Linked DNA regions of Homo sapiens: region 1 is linked to region 2. Evidence: promoter capture Hi-C in 16 types of primary human blood cells and fetal thymus (Javierre and others, 2016). All regions are on one chromosome and are shown on one strand. Each heading gives the region's core, a stretch centred on a gene start or on the middle of the fragment in contact. The rest is flanking DNA. Distances are from core to core; before and after follow the strand shown.

Evidence for each region. The method cuts DNA at HindIII sites, captures the fragments that hold promoters and counts their contacts. A CHiCAGO score of 5 or more calls a contact.
Region 1: a contact is called between a fragment that was not itself captured here and the fragment with the promoter of PLD4 in region 2, in 1 of 17 cell types (endothelial precursors). The highest score is 5.1, in endothelial precursors.

The regions. Positions count from the first base shown.
Region 1 is chr14:104,956,394-104,959,093 of GRCh38, reverse strand. AHNAK2 (AHNAK nucleoprotein 2) reads left to right here. Exons shown (of 7, transcript NM_138420.4): 2 at 1,422-1,480; 3 at 1,586-1,684; 4 at 2,405-2,506. Among named protein-coding and RNA genes, the nearest start is that of AHNAK2, 21 kb to the left of the region's middle. RefSeq lists a cis regulatory region at 1,981 and an enhancer at 1,897-2,066. The HindIII fragment of the contact is 4,463 bases long and covers 1-2,700 here.
Region 2 is chr14:104,923,583-104,926,282 of GRCh38, reverse strand. It overlaps PLD4 (phospholipase D family member 4), which reads right to left and starts at 1,404. Exons shown (of 11, transcript NM_138790.5): 1 at 1,293-1,404. RefSeq lists enhancers at 570-1,079, 1,062-1,231. The HindIII fragment of the contact is 16,221 bases long and covers 1-2,700 here.

The DNA.
Region 1 (2,700 bases), core at 114-2,613, 33 kb before region 2:
CAAAGTGCTGGGATTACAGGCATAAGCCAGCATGCCCAGACTATTTTGCCTTTATTTTTGGAAGGATAGGTTGCTTGATATCAAATTCTTCGTTGACAACAGTTTCTTTCAGCCCTTTGAATATATTGTTCCACTTTCTCGTAGCTTCTATGGTTTTGATGTGATTCAGGTGTTAGTTGTATTTTTGTGCCCTTATTATGTGATGGGGCCCTTTCTCTTAAGCATTTTGACTGTGACGTTTCTAGGTGTGGATCTCTGTGTTTCTCCTGCTTAGGTCTGGTCGCGCTTCTTGGATTCTGCAGATTGTTTTCAGCTATCACTTCTTCAACTCTCTCTTCTGCCTCTTTATCTTATGGTTAATGCTCTGAGACTCTGTTTTTCTTCAAACAATCTTCCCCCTGACCCCGTTCTTCAAATTGGTTAATTTATATTAATCTACAAGTTGATAATTCTTCTGGTATCTCAAATCTGTTGGTGAACCCCAGTAGTAAATTTTCAACTCCAGAATTTTTGCTTGCTTTTAAAAAATAAGTTTTATTTCTTTATGAGATTCTCTCTTCATTGAGCCATTGTTAACATATTTTCCATTAATTTTTTAAACATGATTTGTTTTTGTGTTTTGAACAAACTTTTTTTTTTCTTTTTGAGACGGAGTTTCACTCTTGTTGCCCAGGCTGGAGTACAATGGCACAATCTCGGCTCACCACAACCTCCGCCTCCCAGGTTCAAGTGATTCTCCTACCTCAGCCTCCTGAGTAGCTGGGATTACAGGCATGTGCCACCATGCCTGGCTAATTTTGTATTTTTAGTAGAGATGGGGTTTCTCCATGTTGGTGAGGCTGGTCTCGAACTCCCAACCTCAGGTGATCCACCCGCCTCAGCCTCCCAAAGTCCTGGGATTACAGGCATGAGCCACCGTGCCCGGCCTGAACAAACTTTTAATAGTTTCTTTGAAGTCTGTATTAAACCCAGCATTAGTAGACATTTAGAGACACTTTCCATTCACTGCTTTGTTTCTCAGTATGGACCATACATTCTTGTTTCTTCGCGTAACTTGTAATTTTTTGGTGGCTGCTGGACATTTTAGATAATATATTCTGGCAGCTCTGGATTCTGATCCTCCCAGGGTGTGGTTATACAATAACAAACGCCTTGTGTTTGTTTAGTCACTTTCTTGGACTAAATCTGTTCCAACTTGGAATAAGTCCAGTCTCAATTCACTGCTACCTGACGTGATGCCTCAGCCTCTCCAGCCCATTGGCTATAGATCTTCCCCCAGCCCCTGAGTTTGCTCTCCGATCCAGTGTCCAGGAAAGGACTATGACACCTCCACAGTGTACATACAGTCCTGGCTCCCTCCCCCGGGCCCCGATCTGCTCCCCCAGCCTGCTTGTCTCCACTGACAGCCACTCTCTCTGCAGTGTCCGGCCGTCAGCTGCAGCCCGGGGAGCCAGGTGCAGAAACGGAAGATGACCACTCTGTAAGTGAGAGCAGGAGGAAGTGTGTCCTCCTCATACCCTGCCCCCATTCTCCCTGGGCCCTGGGAGAACCGAGTGGCAAAAATAACTGGATTCTCTCCCGTCAGGTGACTGAAGGGCCTGCGGATGAGGGCATTCGACCACGGCCGCAGGGGTCTTCACCTGTCTACGAATACACGACTGAGGCTGCCGACTTTGGACTCCAGGTGAGCCTGCTGGGCAGAGCCCCACAGGCACCCAGGTCTCCTCCTGCATCGCCCTGTGTGGGCAACTCACGCATGTCTGTTCAACCTTGCTGCCCTGCCCCGCTGCCCACTGGGCAGTGCCCACTCAGATGTCCTCTCAGACTCCTCTGTGCCCTTGGGTCCCTCCCTGTGGCCGGCCAGGGCACAGTGGGATGGAGGTGCCCTGCAGCTCTTGTGAGCATGCGTATGGGCTGATGGGGACAGGCCTCATGTTACTGTGTTTGTGTTTCAGGGGCACAGGGTGTGTGCATCCCTGCACCTGTGTAACACACTCATGCTGTCTTTGGGGACAGGGCCCCATGGCTACCTCTGGAGACAAGGACTCGGGGAAGGGATCAGAGGAGGCATGTCTATGAAAGGATTCATTTTTGTACAATTTGAATTTCTTATCTCCCTCCATACAAAACTCCAGTTGCTGTGGGGCTTCCCTATGGGCGCTGTGGGCTGTAGGGTGGGTGCTGTGGGCTGTAGGCTGGGCCCTGTCGGGAAGCAGGAAGGCCGAGAGTTGCCTTTTCTCTGTGGATGTGCCTGGAGGAACTCGGCTGCCTCTGCACACAGCTGTGTGTTGGAAGTTCTGGGCCCCTCTGAAGGGAGGGCTCCTGGTCTGGCACCAGCCTACCTGTGCCCCTCCCTGTCCCTGAGCTGGGGCAGGTGCCTAACTCCCAACACTTGTGGCTGCAGGAAGACGCCCCCGGCAGGCAAGGTTCTGCTGGGAGACGGAGATCCTGGTGGAAGCGAGATTCAGGGGACTCACGGACATTTTTCAGGATGAGTCGTCCAGAGGTGGGTACAGCAGGAGCTGAGGGTCACAGAGGTGTGTCGGTCCTCAAGGGATCCAGCCAGAGAGTCCGAGGTCAGAGCAGGCAGGGGAGGAGCAAAGAGGCTGGCAGTGTGCCCCGTGCCCTGGGGAGGAGGGGTGTTCTTGTCCCCCTTGTCAGGCCTGGGGAAGGGCAGGGGCTCCAGAAGGCTACATCTGG
Region 2 (2,700 bases), core at 155-2,654:
TGCCCAGCATGGTCACCTGGCTGGCCAGCCTCTGACTGAGACATCCACCAGGGCAGGAGCTGGCTGGCCCCTGGCTGGGATGGGGATGTCTCCGAGGTTTGGGGCCTGGGCCTGGGCAGTGCTGAGTGCCAGTGTCTGCAGCCAGGCTGGGCGCTGGGACCCAGGGCTCGGTGGGTCGGCTGTCCACCCAGGAGCAGCCAGCTCAGCCTCCAGGCCTCTGGGGTTCGTCTGGGCTGTCCTCCCACGGGTCAGGGCTGAGGGCTTTGAGAACCTGGCCTGCCTCAGCATGGGGCGGAAATGCCAGGAACACCACAGGAGTCGGGCCTGGACTGAGTCTGCCCTGGAGACCAAGCGTTATGGGGGATTGGGGGTAGGAGCATAAACCAAGTGTGGGGACAGGGGACTCAGGCCAAGTCACTGCGGCCCAACTCCCCCCACGCTGGGGGGTCCTGCAGAGGTGGGTGGGTGCCGCCCCCACCCCAGAGCTGAACTCTGGGGGATGCTCCCCCCACCCCACAGAGGAGACCTCAGGGTGCCCACCGTGTCCCCACTGTCCCCAGGGATTCAGGGCCCAGCATCGGGCCTTTGCTCTCCCCCACTAACTCTCAGAAGAGGAAACATGGAATCCTGGGCTGTGGCTGGTCAATGAGAGGAAACATGGAATCCTGGGCTGTGGCTGGGCAACGAGGTGCCAGGGCTGTTCTTGGACAGCTGCTCCCCACACTCCCTGCCCTCACCAGAGAGGACCTTTGCTCCCTTAAATGCTCCAGGCAGACGGGCAGCTCAGAGCACAGAGGCGCTGCCTCTTGCAGGCCCCATCTCAGACTTGGAGCCTGTCCAAGTCCCCTCCCAGGACTACAGACCCCAGAGCGCCTCACCACCTCCTCCTGCAATGGAACCTGGGAGGACCGCCAGCCAGGTTGGCTCAAGCTGAGAGACCCCTGCAGAGTAGGGCTGTAGCCCCCTGGTCCCATGGTAGATAGCGTAAGACCCTGCAGACATCAGAGGTCATGGCTGAAGGTGCCAGATTTCCTGCCCTGCAGGGCATTAGGCATGGCTGCCAGTCCCAGGCTGAGGTAGAGGGCCCAGCTGTCACCTGGCTGGAGAGCCAGGGCCCAGCTTATCCCAGCTGCACGGACTGGGGACGGAGCGAGTCATCTACAGGACTAGCTGGAGGCTGTGTGACTCTCTGGACCTGGGGTTGCTGGGAGGCTGAGGCCATAGGGAGGCAGACAGCAGCCCTTTCCCCATGCCTGGCTTTTCTCAGCTGCCCTGGCCTCATTGGCACATACCTCTGGGGGTCCTGCCTTGGTGTCTATCCTGATTCCAGCCGCAGACTGCAGGCCCTCAGCTCACGGGGCAGGCTCGGTGCTGCCTGTGCTCCACACCAACCTCCTCTTCTCTGCAGCTCACCTCCTCCTCTCTGCAGCTGGCTCCTTCCCCTTCCAGCTACTTCCTCTTTGTCCTGAGAGGCCCCCTCTCATCTGAGACAGAAACAGACGGCTGGAGCTGGGTGGGCGGGCTAGAGGGTAGGGCTGAGAACCTTCACCTCCAGGAAAAATCTACACCCCACTCCCTCGAGGTAGAGGCCCTCCAGTTGCGGGCCTACGAATCGGAGTCAAGTTCAGCTGCAGGCCACAGACACCTAAGGAACAGTGGCTTCAGCAAGGTTGTTCATTACTCTCGAACACTAAGCAGGTCCAGGGGCTGGCAGGCTAGAGACGGCCTTGCTAGAGATGATGGCATTGCTCCACTGCCATTGGGAGCCAGGCTCTCAGATCCCAGTCCCTAGGATCCCTGCCTTCATGGCCTCACAGTGGCTGCTGGAACTCAGCCATTGCCTCTGTGTTCTTAGCAGAGAATAAGGGACATCCCAGAGGAGACTTCCTGGAAGTCCCACAGGGCACTTCCACTTATCTGTGATCTGGAACTTGATCTAGAACTTAGTCACATGGCTACACTTAGCTGCAAGGGAGGCTGAGCAATGGAGGTAACTAGGGTCTTTATCTTGGAGAACGAAGCTGGGGCTGCTCACTGGCATATCTGAAAAGGTGGGCCTGGCTAGAAGCTCCTAGCAAGGGGCTCTGCCTCCCACTGCCCCACCCCCCGACTGGGGTCCCTGAGTAAGGTCTGGGACCTTGAGAACACTCCTACTTTCAATGAGGTCTGGGTGTCCACCCTGGCTCCTCCTTGTAAGGCCTATGTAGGGCAGGGGTCCAGGGTGATGGCCTCAGGGTGCCTGCAGGACACCAGTCAGGAGGGTGCAGTTCCCAAGGGTGGGGCCTGTCAGCTGCACCCCTGGGGCCAGTCTGGGTGGGCCAGGAAGTGAATGGGGAAGAGATCCATCCTCTCCCTAGCCCCTCCCAGATCTCTCTTCACCTTCCTGATGCTCTGATTTGGCCTTGGGTTCAGCCCTTACCTCCCGGCCATGGTTGGGGAGCCCCAGCCCTCTGGCTGGGTTGCTGGATGCCTGAATGCAGCTGGGCCCCAGGCATGCCCCCGAGGGTTGGGTCCTCCAGGGACTCTGGGTGAGGGTTACTCTGGGTATGGGGAGGGGCAGCCAGGTGGGTCCTGCTGTGACATTTGCAGGGCTGGGGCATGAGTATGAAGGGAGGCTGCCTTCCCTGCACTCAAGCAAAAGGCAGTTAGACAGAACAGGTTCTCTTCTGTCTTTTTTTTTTTCTTTTTCCTTTGAGAGAA